Linked DNA regions of Homo sapiens: regions 1 and 2 are each linked to region 3. The links are contacts of gene promoters, found by promoter capture Hi-C in blood cells and fetal thymus (Javierre and others, 2016). All regions are on one chromosome and are shown on one strand. The core of a region is centred on a gene start or on the middle of the fragment in contact, and the rest is flanking DNA. Distances in the headings are between cores, read along the strand shown. Region 1 holds the start of CYP4F3 (cytochrome P450 family 4 subfamily F member 3). Region 2 overlaps CYP4F8 (cytochrome P450 family 4 subfamily F member 8). Region 3 holds the start of CYP4F2 (cytochrome P450 family 4 subfamily F member 2).

Evidence for each region. Contacts are between HindIII fragments. The CHiCAGO score rates a contact against its expected background, and 5 or more counts as called.
Region 1: a contact is called between the fragment with the promoter of CYP4F3 here and the fragment with the promoter of CYP4F2 in region 3, in 4 of 17 cell types (total CD4 T cells, total CD8 T cells, naive CD8 T cells and 1 more). The highest score is 6.8, in total CD4 T cells.
Region 2: a fragment that was not itself captured here is called in contact with the fragment with the promoter of CYP4F2 in region 3 in 1 of 17 cell types (M0 macrophages); the score reaches 5.8 in M0 macrophages.

What each region holds. Positions count from the first base shown.
Region 1 is chr19:15,638,942-15,643,096 of GRCh38, forward strand. CYP4F3 (cytochrome P450 family 4 subfamily F member 3) reads left to right here and starts at 1,956. Exons shown (of 13, transcript NM_000896.3): 1 at 1,956-2,004; 2 at 2,474-2,672. The coding sequence starts at 2,475. The HindIII fragment of the contact is 7,096 bases long and covers 1-3,390 here.
Region 2 is chr19:15,619,284-15,623,880 of GRCh38, forward strand. It overlaps CYP4F8 (cytochrome P450 family 4 subfamily F member 8), which reads left to right. Exons shown (of 13, transcript NM_007253.4): 4 at 207-260; 5 at 352-479; 6 at 2,936-3,057; 7 at 3,822-4,092; 8 at 4,416-4,482. Among named protein-coding and RNA genes, the nearest start is that of CYP4F8, 6.4 kb to the left of the region's middle. The HindIII fragment of the contact is 5,324 bases long and covers 1-4,253 here.
Region 3 is chr19:15,894,972-15,899,372 of GRCh38, forward strand. It overlaps CYP4F2 (cytochrome P450 family 4 subfamily F member 2), which reads right to left and starts at 3,103. Exons shown (of 13, transcript NM_001082.5): 1 at 3,055-3,103; 2 at 2,443-2,641; 3 at 535-679. The coding sequence starts at 2,640. The HindIII fragment of the contact is 3,476 bases long and covers 1,892-4,401 here.

The sequences.
Region 1 (4,155 bases), core at 706-3,205, 260 kb before region 3:
AGGCACTCTTTATGTAGAGCAGGCAGCAGTGAGTAGGCACTCTTTATCAGGAGCAGATGATACTCAGTAAACACTCTTTATATAGAGCAGGTGGCATCTGTAGGCACTCTTTATCTAGAGCAAGTGGCATTCAATGGGCTCTCTCTCTTTTTTATTTTTTTGTGAGACAGAGTCTCACTCTGTTGCCCAGGCTGGAGTGCAGTGGTATGAACTCAGCTCACTGCAAACTCTGCCTCCCGGGTTCATGAGATTCTCCTGCCTCAGCCTCCCGAGTAGCTGGGATCATAGGTGCCCGCCACCACGCCCGGCTAATTTTTGTATTTTTAGTAGAGATGGGGTTTCACCATGTTGGCCAGGCTGGTCTTGAACTCCCGACCTCAGATGATCTGCCTGCCTTGGCCTCCCAAAGTGCTTGGATTACAGGCATGAGCTACTGTGCCTGGCCAGTAGGCACTCTTTATGTATTGCAGGTGGTACTGAGTAGGCACTTTTTATGTAGCGCAGGCAAGAGTAGGAACTCTTCATGTAGAGCAAGCAGCACTCAGTAGGCACCCTTTATGTACAGAAGGCAGCCCACAGTAGGTACACTTTATGGAGCACAGGCAACACTCGAGCAGGCAGCACTCAATAGACCCTCTTTATGTAGATCAGGAAACACTCAGTAGGAAGTCACCATATAGAGCAGGTGGTATCAGTAGGCACTGTTTATGTAGAGCACTTGGCACTCAGTAGGCATGTGTTATGTAGACAGCAACTGGTGCTCAGTGGGCACTCTTCATATACAGGGGGTGGCACTCAATAGGCACTCACTATGTAGAGCAGGTGGCACACAGTAGGCACTCTATGAGGAATATCAGGAACTGAGTATACAGGGTTAATGTAGAGCACCTGGCACACAGTAGGCACACTTTATGGAAAGCACTTGGCACAGAGTAGACAGGATTTAGCACCTGGCACACAGTAGCTGCCCTTCATTTAGAGTATTGGCACACAGTAGAAGTACTTTCCATGCAGCCTTTGTGCAGAGTAGAGACTGGCACACAGCAGCTCAAGTGCTAGTTGCCACCCTTTCCCTTCACTCCTTTTTGGGGCTCCCTCCTCTTAGGAGCCCTCATTGTCCCCCGCTAAGGCCCTCATCGAACATCCCATTTCCCAGATGGGAAGACTGCACCCAGGAGGGGCAGTACTGACCAAAGTCAGAGCAAGGATGAGGCAGAATGAGGACTCCATTCATGGTTCCCTGGCTCTGCCCTTCCCCTGCCTGGACCCCATCCGTTCCCTCTCATCCTAACCCTCCACGTCCCCGCTCTGTCCTCCTATACTGAGTCCGGCCTCCAGATTTGCTTTTCCAGCTGAGCTCTTAATCTCCAGAATCTGACCCAGGTAATCCTCAGTGGGGCTGGATTCTTTGTTCCCGTTCCTAGCAGTCAGGTCTCCAACAGGGCCCTGGACTGCCTGGAGGCAAGACTTGAACTCCATCCAGCAGCAGGGGGATAGAGGCTTGTCTCTTCCAGGTTGCCTGATTCAGCATCCAGAAGTGGTACACGGTGTCCTACCGGCCCAGGGTTAGAGAGGAGCACAGGAGATGATCTGGAACAAGGCTTGGCCTGGCCTGGCTCGCTTGACACCTGAACTCTCAAGTTCATGCTTTTATCTGCCACACACTCAGTAGGTGCTCTTTAAGAGCAGGTGTCACACAGTGGAAACTCTATCTGACCCCTCTCGGCTTACTCTCCACCTTATGTGGGAGGTGCTGAGACCTGAGGATCCAGTGCCTGTGCTGTGTCACCCTGAGCTGGTTCCTCTGCATCCAGCTGGTCTCCCACACCCAGGTTTTGGCCAGCTGCCCAGACATGGGAGCGGCACCCAGGCTGTGGGGATTGGCTGGCCCAGCCCAGCCCAGCCTAGCCTCCCACAGCCTTCCCTACATCAGGGGCCAGGGGAAAAAACCTCCCAGAAGAAGGGGAGAGGAGGTTGTGTGGGACAAGGTGCTCCTGACAGAAGGTGCCAGGGTGGGGGTGGTGGGCCTGGGGCATCCTAGCCTGTGATGGAGATGGGCACTGGGCAAGGGATTGGGCGCACACATAGGGGAGCCCCAGCCTTCCCACATTCTCCATTGCTGCCCAAGGCCCAGGCAGCTCCTGGTTGCTGGCTTGGAGGATGAGTGGTTTTCTAACTGAAACCAAGCCCCTGGCAACGTCCTAATGATTCAGGCTGGGCCTTTCTGGACTTTAATCAGTTTCTCTGTCTTTCTCAATCTAAGTGCTTACCGGGTAACTGGAGGCCACTTGGTTGCTGGTTTTGGCTGGGCCTTTCTGGACTTTACCCCTCAGCCCCTGTTTATCCATCCCTGTTTACTCTTACTGTTCTATCTCCAGCACTGCCCGTCTCTGCCTCTCTCCACTGTCCCTGGAGCTCCCTGGGCCCTTCCCTGGGCCTCAGGACCTCACTCACCACCCCATCTGCCCTGCAGGATGCCACAGCTGAGCCTGTCCTCGCTGGGCCTTTGGCCAATGGCAGCATCCCCGTGGCTGCTCCTGCTGCTGGTTGGGGCCTCCTGGCTCCTGGCCCGCATCCTGGCCTGGACCTATACCTTCTATGACAACTGCTGCCGCCTCCGGTGTTTCCCGCAACCCCCGAAACGGAATTGGTTCTTGGGTCACCTGGGCCTGGTGAGTGTGGCAGCAGGACGGGTCTGGGGTCTCAGGGTGGATGGACTTCCTGAGGGGTAAGAATGAGGCTCAGGTGAGAGGGGGTGGGCTGGGGTCTGGGGTGGCAGAGAAGCAGGGGAGGCGTCTTACTCATTCCTCTGCTTACTCATTTCTGTGAGGTGCCAACCCAAGCCCTTCTCACCTCCCTGTTCTCCCACTCTTGGCCTGTGTTGAATCCTTTTCCTGCCTGTCTTTCCACATTAATGCACCTCTGCGGGGCTCTTGGGCAGGGGGTTGGGTGCACAGAAAGGTGAACCCCTGGCGTTCCCACATTCTCCATTGCTGGACTCGAGGCCTCCTGTACCCACTGTTCAGGGTCCTCTCCCTACCTGGCCTATTTCCTCTTATGAGGGTATAGGTGGGCCAGAGGAGAGGTGTGGGCTGTCTCTCACCTCCACCACATCCGGAGGCACCTTCCTCTTATCTTGTTCCTCCCCAGTAAGATGTCCCAATGGGGTCCTGTTGCCAAACCCACATAAAAGTTGGCCACTCACTTCCCCTTTCAGAAGCCTTCCCTGACCTTTCTCCTCCCCCAGACCTTGCCCTCTGACTTAGACCTGCTCTCCCCTTTGCGGAACGTGGTCTCAATCTGCTCATTGCAAATGGCAGGATTGATGGGTGTGTCCACAGGTGAAGTGGGAGGGTGCACAGGATGCACTAGCACAGAGCCTGGTGCAGAAGCTTCTCCCAGGTGGGAGCCACTGTCATGATGGACAGTTAGAGTCACCTCTGCTCCCCTAGTGACTGCTGAGAAGGGAAGGTCCCCTGTGTGCAGAACCTTCTCCATGGGAGGAACTGGAACCTGTGTGGCTGGTGGAGGAACCAGCCAGGGCATGAAGGGATGTGGGGACCAGCCTTAGGGACATGTCCTGAGTCCACACTGCTCCCCACAAACCTCCCCTGTGAGGACCTCCTCATATGCCCACCTCTGGGCTGAAATGACTCCCAGAACAAGGAAATTTTTCCTCTCAAGCTAAGTGGGCCTCTGTGAGTGGACAGTGTGTCTTTTCCTTCTGCCTTGGGATGCGCTCTTGGGACTTGGGGGTGGCCCCAAGAGAGATAGAGCAGGAGGAATGTAGACAGATAGATAGGTAATAGGATAGATGGATGGATGGATGCACAGATAGGGTGAATAGATGGCTGGCTGGCTGGATAAGTAGGTGGGTAGATAGACAGATAGATAGATAGATAACAGGATAGATGGATGGATGGACAGATGGATGCATGGATAAGATGGATGGATGGATGGATGGATGGATGGATGGATGGATAATACATACATAAAGTAGTAGATAAGATGGATACATTAGGTGGATAGATAGGTAGAGTGGATATGTAGGATGGATAGATTAGATGGATGGATAGATAGCTAGATGATTGATAGATAATAGGATAAATGGATGAGTGGATGAATGTACAGATAAGATGGATGGATGGATGGATG
Region 2 (4,597 bases), core at 342-2,841, 280 kb before region 3:
GTATCATTGCTCTATAGTGTTGTTGCAGCCTAGTCCGGTCCCCTTTATGCCCCCCACCCTCCTTTCTTCTTCTGCCCATGGCCTCCTTCCTGCTATGCTGGGCTTGGAGAAAAGACGTCCAAACCTCTGGCTGGGAGCCACCCTCCATACCCAAAGTCCCTCCTCTATTCCTCTCCATGGACCCTGATGGTCCTCATTCATGTCAGATGCCATTACAGACAAGGACATAGTCTTCTACAAGACCCTGAAGCCCTGGCTGGGTAAGTAACTGTAGGTGGACGGGACGGGGACCAACTTTTGTGGCCAGGGGAAGATTCTGCCCTTGCCCACAGCCTTTGGCTGCCGTACTAGGGGATGGGCTCTTGTTAAGTGTTGGTGACAAGTGGAGACACCACCGTCGCTTGCTGACGCCTGCCTTCCATTTCAACATCCTGAAGCCCTATATAAAGATTTTCAGCAAGAGTGCAAACATCATGCATGTGAGTGCCTTGAACTCAGCATCCCAGCTGCAGCCTTGGGGTGGAGGGATCACATACAATTGGGTCTGGAATGTTGGCTCTCCTGGGTGGGTTTGGGGCCATTGCTCTTCCTCTCTGTGCCTTGATTTCCCCATGAGGCTAATAATCCTCACTAAAAGGTGGTAGGAGCATGTAATGGACTCATGTCTCTGACACTTAGTAGGTGGTCAGAAGGAGTCAATTTCCACATTTTTCTCACAGAAGCCCTGTAAACTCAAGAAAGGAATGATGACACGTGCATAGTAGTCATTGCTGAGTACAGATCACTTCAAAACTAATTGGTTTAGAGCAATAAGGGTTTATATTTGCTAACAAATCTGTGGGACTGTTGGCCAGCCCTTCTGCATGTGGATAGGATCCCTCATGGTATAAGAGCAGCTGTGGGTCAGGTAGGCAGCTTTGCTTGTGCCAGCTCAGTTCTCTCACATATTTGGAGCTTTGCTGGCTTCTGGCTGATTTAGGATGGCCTCAGCTGGGACACCTGGACTTTTCTCCATGTGATTCTCTGCCTCTAGATGACACCCCAGGATTGCTCACATGGCAGAGACAGGATTCCAAGGCAGTGAGAGGAGGATACAATGCTTCTCACTAGTTATTATTATTTATTTTATTTTTGAGATGAAGTCTCGCTTTGTCTCCCAGGCTGGAGTGCAGTGGTGCGATCTTGGCTCTCTGCAACCCCCGCCTCAAGCAATTCTCCTGTCTTAGCCTCGTGGGTAGATGGAATTACAGGCGCCCACCACCATGCCCAACTAATTTTTTGTATCTTCAGTAGAGACAGGGTTTCACCATGTTGGGCAGGCTGGTCTTGAACTCCTGACGTCAAGTGATCTGCCCTCCTCGGCCTCACAAAATGCTGGAATTACAGGCATGGGCTGCTGCACCCAGTCAACTTCTCACTAGTTATGGCCTTATCATTTTCACCACATTCTATTGGCCAAAAAAAGTAAAACGTCCACCATGAATCAATGTGGGGCAAAATAGGCTCCATCTCTTAATGGAAGTTGCTAAAAAATCACATTGCAAAAGATGTGGATGCAGGGAGAAGAGAAGAAATGGAGCCAAGCGTTTTGTGAAACGACTAGGATTTTTTTTTCTCCTGTGAGCTAATAAATTAGCTTGTTACTTTTGCATGGATTCTGCCAGAAGACACGAGACTTCTGGGTCAAAGACAAAAGTTTATTACTCATGTCTCAGCAAGTGGCATGTGCATCTTGTTGGTTTGGATCCTTTCTCTAAGCCACCCAAATTCCCTGGGGTGATAAGGTGGGCTTCTATAGATGCCTGCCATGTAGTATATTTGCATGATGGGGAGGAGCATTAGGCTTAGAGAATCAGCTTTTAGAGCAAGCAGAATAAGCCTAACGTGTGTCCCAGAGGAGCCATTACCTTATACCCCAAGGCTGTTCTCTGCAAACACAATGCTGAGAAATAGCCCAGATTAAGAACCTCAGGGTTGACCGGGTGTGGTGGCTCATGCTTGTAATCCCAGCACATTGGTATCACTTGAGGTCAGGAGTTCGAGACCAGCCTGGCCAACATGGCAAAACCCTGTCTCTACTAAAAATACAAAAATTAGCAGGGCGTGGTGGTGCGTGCCTGTAACCCCAGCTACTCAGGAGGCTGAGACAGGAGAATTGCTTGAACCCAGCAGGCAGAGGTTGCAGTGAGCCAAGACTGTGCCACTGCACTCCAGCCTGGGCAACAGAACGAGACTCCATCTCAAAAACTAGCAAACAAACAAAACAAACAAACAACAACAACAACAAAACTTCAGAGTTTTGCATTCTTGGCATGCTCAGAAAAAAATGTTCAGGGGGATCACAGGGACTTTTTGTAATCAATTTATAACAATGAAGATGAATCAAGATAATATTTATTGAGAACTCATCATATGACAGAAATGATGTAATATGCCTATTCCATGGTGTATGTGGTCTCATTTAATTTACACCGCCTTGTGAAGTAGAGGATATTTTCCACCCTCTCCCCCATGCCATGACAAATGGTGAAACTGAGGGCCAGAGAGGTTAGAGAGATTTCCCAAGTTCACCCAGCTTGTCAGTGAGTCTAAGAGTGGGGGAAAAGGGGTTCTAGCCTGGCTCCCTGGCATCAAAGCAGGTCATCTTGATTGCTATTGAGGATTTGACAGGTGAGACCTAGAGGAGGGCTGTGAGTTGACCAAGGGTACACACAGCTTAGGAATCACAGCTGGGGCTTGAACCCAGCCATGGGATCTTCATCTCCTAATAGTAACAGCTTCCACTCTCACCCAAGCGTAGTCCTCCCTGAGGATGGGGGTCTGGGACAGAAAACCAGGAGCATGCCTCTGGGGGAGTCCATCCTGGTGGTTGGGGTTGCAGGGGGACTCAGAGGAGCCAAGGCCTGGCCCCAGCCCTGCTCCCTTCTCTGGCCAGGCCAAGTGGCAACGCCTGGCCATGGAGGGCAGCACCTGTCTGGATGTGTTTGAGCACATCAGCCTTATGACCCTGGACAGTCTGCAGAAATGCATCTTCAGCTTTGACAGCAATTGTCAGGAGTGAGTTCTTGCCCAGGGCCTGGGAACATGGGATGGAGTGGGGGTGTGGGTGTGGGGAGAGCAAAGCCCAGGGAGACAAGAAGAGCCTTCCTGGAGAGATGATGAGAACTAGGCATTGAAGGACAAAGAAGGAGAGAAGGAGAGAGAGAGAGAGCGAGAGAAAGAGAAGTTTCCTCCAAACAAGTGGAACTGTTTGGGTCAAGGCAAGGAGGCTAAGATGAACAGAGCATGTGCAACAGGCAGTTGGGAGACACTTGGAAATGAAGGTGGAGGGGTTGGCAGTTAACTAGATCTTAAGGATCTTGAAAAGTCAGACAAAGGGAGATGCATTTTATCCAAGGTTCCTAAGGAGCCATGGAGGTGTTTGAGCAGATGAGAGACATGGTCAGTACTGAGCTTGGACACTGGACTCTATGGGACTCTATGGAAGATTGACTGTCATGTAGACACAGCATGCAAGGATGCCAGGGAGAGGAGGTCTGAGTTTGGTGGAGAAAATGGGGCAGATTTGGGAGAAACTGAGTAATAATAGGCAGGAGCAGATGTTTTATAAGACAGAGAGAGGAGATGCCCATGATGGCCAAGCTGTGCCCTGGGGACCTGGGGCAGGAGGCAGCTCACAGAGAGTGGGAGGCAGAGAGTGAAGTGCGCTTGCAGGACACCCCTTTCTGCATGGAATGTGGTCCTGGGATTCTGGCTGGAAGGTGCTCCCAGGCTTTCATGTGGGTAAGGAGCTGCTTCCTCTCTCTGGACTGGCCCTGCAGGAAGCCCAGTGAATATATTACTGCGATCATGGAGCTCAGTGCCCTTGTAGTGAAACGGAATAACCAGTTCTTCCGGTACAAGGACTTCCTGTACTTCCTCACTCCCTGTGGACGGCGCTTCCACAGGGCCTGCAGACTGGTGCACGACTTCACAGATGCCGTCATCCAGGAGCGGCGCCGCACCCTCACTAGCCAGGGTGTTGATGACTTCCTCCAAGCCAAGGCCAAGTCCAAGACTTTGGACTTTATTGATGTGCTCCTGCTGAGCGAGGTGGGCCTCTCTGGGATCTGAATTCAAGAGGTAAAATGGAGCTTCAGGTCAAATGTCAGATTGAAGGACCGGACTTGATACAGAGGGCACTAAGGAGCCATGGAAGGTGCTCGAAGAAGGGAGGGACAAGTCAGATAAATTTTAGAGGTGATTGCATAGAAAGCTTCCTGGGAAGAACAAACAGGAGGTCGGAAGGAAGCATGTGGGGGTAGATCTGGAGGTGACAAGGGAGGGATCCTTCTGGGATAATGGGTCTTCAGAGACTGTTTCAGTTTAGACTCCAGTGACCCCAGAACTAGTGTGATTGGGGTTCTTGTCTCCAGGATAAAAATGGTAAAGAGTTGTCAGATGAGGACATAAGAGCAGAAGCTGACACTTTCATGTTTGGAGGTGAGTGTCCCAGTCTGGGGCTACAGTGGGGACAGGGGTCTCTCCACTCCAGGGAAGTGGAGGGCCGGCCCTGAATCACTTCATTCTGCCCAACCTCCCCCTCCCCTCAACCTTC
Region 3 (4,401 bases), core at 1,853-4,352:
CATTGTTCTAGGCTTTGGGACAGGCAAGGTGATGCTAGGCCTGGCAAGGGGCCTTGAATACTAACGATGTCCAATTGCCTCACCCTGCACTCTCCTTTCAAACATTCCTACTCATTGTTCCAGACACAGCTCCAGTAACTCCTCCTCTAGGAAGCCTTCCAGCCTGCCCCAGCAGAGACCTTGTTCTTCCCTGGGCTGTGATCCATCTCCCTCTGGCCCTTTCCTGATCCCATGAAGTTGGGGATATCTCTATCCAGGTCCATCTCCTTAAAGTTGGGGGTTCCTCCAGGACTGGGCCTTGGGTTGAGGTCTCTTAGGGTTCCAGGGCAGCCCAGAACACCAGAACAGGGGGTAGATGGCAATAGAGAGAGGAGACGCTGAGATGGAAATTGATGAATACATGAAAGAAAGATGAAGATAGCTGAGAGGGAAGGAAAGGAGAGGCCAGAGTACTGCAGGGCCCACACAGGAGCTTGGGGATAGCGGAAGTGCAGGCCTCAAATGCACTGCCCCACCAGCTGTTCCAGATGGTACCTGAGGCGTTGATGACAGACCGGATGATGTCGGGGTGGCACAAACTGAGGAGGGGGGAGATGGGTCCCATCCAGACCTTAAAGCCCTGGGGGTAGGTGGCCACCAGCTGAGTCAGAACTCTCATGCCCTCCTCTGTGGGGTTGACCTGCAAGCAAGGCAGGGGTCATTACCTTCTGTGATAGTTAATTCTAGGTGTCTACTTGACTGGGCTAAGGGATGCCCAGGTAGTTGGTCAAACATTATTTCTGGGTGTGTCTAATCTATTCATCCTATCTATCTAATTTTTCTATCTATATATCTATCTGCCTACCCATCTATCCATCAATCCATTTTATCTGTGCTTTCATCCATCCATATATTCATCTGTCTGTCTGCTTATCATCTATTAATAGCCATCTATCCGTCTAATCTATCCATCATATATATCTACTCCATCTGTCTACATAATCTATCCATCCTATCTACTCTATCTACCCATCCATCCATCATCCATCCATCCATCCATCCTATCTGTGCATCCGTGTGTCCATGCATCCATATGTCCTATTATTTGTCTATCTATCTATCCATCCATCCATCCATCCATCCATCCATCCATCCATGCTATCTGTGCATCCATGTGTCCATGCATCCATCTATTCTATTATCTATCTACCTACGTGCCTGTCCATCCATCCATCCATCCATCTATCCATCCTATCTGTGCATCTATCTATCTATCCTATTAGCTATCTATCTATCTATCTATCTATCTATCTATCTATCTATCTACATTCCTCCTGCTCTATCTATCTATCTATCCACATTCCTCCTGCTCTATCTCTCTTGGGTCCATCTCCAAGTCCCAAGGGTGCATCCCAGGGCAGAGGGAGAAGACGCACTGTCCACTCACAGAGGCCCAGTTATCTTGAGAGGAAGGATTTTCTTTTTCTGGGAGTCATTTCAGCCCAGAGGCAGCTATATGGGGAGGTCCTCACAGGGGAGATTTGTGGGGAGCAGTATCGCCTCAGGACATGTCCCTAAGGCTGGTCCCCACATGCCTTCATGTCCTGGCTGATCCACAGAGGCTCCAGTTCCTCCCATGGAGAAGGTTCTGCACATGGGAGACCTTCCCTTTTCAGCAGCCACTAGTGGAGCAGAGGTGACTCTAACTGTCCATCAGGACAATGGCTCCCACCTGGGAGCAGCTTCTGCAGCAGGCTCTGTGCTAGTGTGTCCTGTGCACCCTTCCACTTTATCTGTGGACACATCCATCAATCCTGCCATTTGCAAATGAGCAGACTAAGACCACATTCCCCAAAGAGGAGAGCGGTCTAAGTCAGAGGGCAAGGTCACGGGGAGGAGAAAGGCCAAGGAAAGCTTCTGAAAGGTGAAGTGAGTGGCCAACTTTTATCTGGGTTTGGCAACAGGTCTCATTGATAAGAGGGAGATAAGAAGAAGAATATAAGAGAAAGGTGCCTTCGGGTGTAGTGGAAGTGGGAGACGGCCCATGCCTCTCCTCTGGCCCAGCTGTACCCTCATAACAGGAAATAGTCCAGGCAAGGAGAGGACCCTGGACAGTGGGCATAAGAAGCCTCGAGTCCAGCAATGGAGAATGTGGGAATGCCAGGGACTCGCCTCTCTGTGCAGCCAACCCTCTGCCCAGGAGCCCCGCAGAGGTGCATTAATGTGGGAAGACAGGCAGGAAAAGGATTCAATGCAGGCCTGGAGTGGGAGGACAAGGAAGTGAGAAGGGCTTGCGTAGGCACCTCACAGAAATGAATAAGCAGAGGAATGAGTAAGATGCCTCCTCTGCTTCTCTGCCACCCCAGATCCCAGCCCACCCCTTCACCCCCACTCCCTAAGCCTCGTACCCCTCAGGAAGTCCATCCATCCTGAGACCTAGACCCATCCTGCTGCCACACTCACCATGCCCTGGTGTCCCCAAAACCAGTTCCGTCTTGGGGGTTGTGGGAAACACCGAAGGCGGCGGCAGTTGTCATAGAAGGCGTAGGTCCAGGCCAGGACATGGGCCAGGAGCCAGGAGGCCCCGACCAGCAGGAGGAGCAGCCAAGGGGATGCTGCCACTGGCCAGAGGCCCAGCCAGGACAGGCTCAGCTGGGACATCCTGCAGGGCAGACGGGATGGACGGTGAGATCCTGAGGCCCAGAGAACGGCCCAGGGACCTCCAGGGACAGTGGAGAGGCAGGGACGGGCAGTGCCGGAGGTAGAGCAGGGAGGGCTCAGGGATGGGTAAAAAGGGGCTGAGAGGTAAAGTCCAGAAAGGCCCAACCAAAACCAGCAGCCAAGTGGCCTCCAGTTCCCTAGTAAGCACTTAGAATGGGAAAGAGAGAGAGAGACTGATTAAAGTCCAGAAAGGCCCAGCCTGAATCACTGTGAGGTTGCCAGGGGCTTGGTTTCAGTTACTCGGAAACCACCCATCCTCCAGGCCAGCACCCAGGAGCTGCGTGGGCCTTGGGCAGTGCCCCTCTCCATCCCAGGCCAGGACCCCCCCCAGGCCTGCCACCCCCAGCCTGGCACCTTCTGTCAGGAGCAGTCTGTCCCAGACAACCTCCTCTCTCTGTCTGCTGGGAGGCCTTTGACCCTGGCCCTTGATATAGCAAAGGCTGTGGGAGGGCTGGCTGGGTTGGGCTGGGCCAACCAATCCCTGCAGCCTGGATGTGTCTCCTGAGCCTGGGCAGCCAATCAACACCTGGCGTCAGGCCAGCTGGGTGCAGAGGAATCAGCTCAGGGTCCAGATGGATGGGTAGATGCACAGATAGATAGAGTAGATAGGATGGATACATTAGGTAGATAGATAAAGTAGATATAGATAATGGATATATTAGACAGATGGATAGATAGCTATTAATAGATGATAGATAGATACATAGATAATAGGATAAATAGATGGAATGGATAAACGTACAGCTAAGATGGATTGATGGATGGATGGGTAGGCAAATATATATATAGATGAGAAATTAGATAGATAGGATGAATAGATTAGATAGACACACCCAGAAATAATGTTCCATCTCTGTCCCAGATATGTGGGATCCTCATTTGTGACATGGGAACTAGGGATCTTGGATCACTCCAATCACTCCAGATGCTACAAGGCCAGTGACTTACTCAGTATGATGCTGAGGAACATGACCATCAGAAACAGGATCAGAGTCACTCTCAAGCAAAAAAAAAAAAAAAAAAAAAAAAAAAAAAAAAAAAAACTCCAAGGATTAAATGATTTTTCCCATTGTCCTGGGGAGAAATTAATCCAAGGGAGGTCACAGGAGGGCAAATAATTCCCCATCACCACCACCACCACCATGAGCATACCATCACCCATGGAGTTTTCTGATTTACTCTTTGGCCCATTAAGCGTGAAATTTCTTATGCTAGGTTTCTTTCTGATAAGGGAGAAGAGATTAGTATCTCTACATTTCCTCTCCTCCTGCTACCTAGTCTCTGTATTCTAGGTTAAATTATAATTTATGTTGAGGATTTACAATGGCTGATACACCTAGCTGAGCCTTCTGCACAGAGATACATTGGGAGTGGAGGTTAATTGGGTCAAAGGAGAAATGCCATAAGCCCACACTCCAGCCTATCAGGGTGGATTAAAGGTCTGATTTGCCCAACTCTTGTCACACCTGCTCCCACTGAGAGGTGACAGCATGCTGGCAGTCCTCACAGCCCTCACTCGCTCTCGGCGCCTCCTCTGCCTGGGCTCCCACTTTGGCGGCACTTGAGGAGCCCTTCAGCCCACCGCTGCACTGTGGGAGCCCCTTTCTTTTCTCTTCTTTTCTTTTTTTTTGGATTTTTTTATTATTATTATTATACTTTAAGTTTTAGGGTACATGCGCACAATGTGCAGGTTAGTTACAT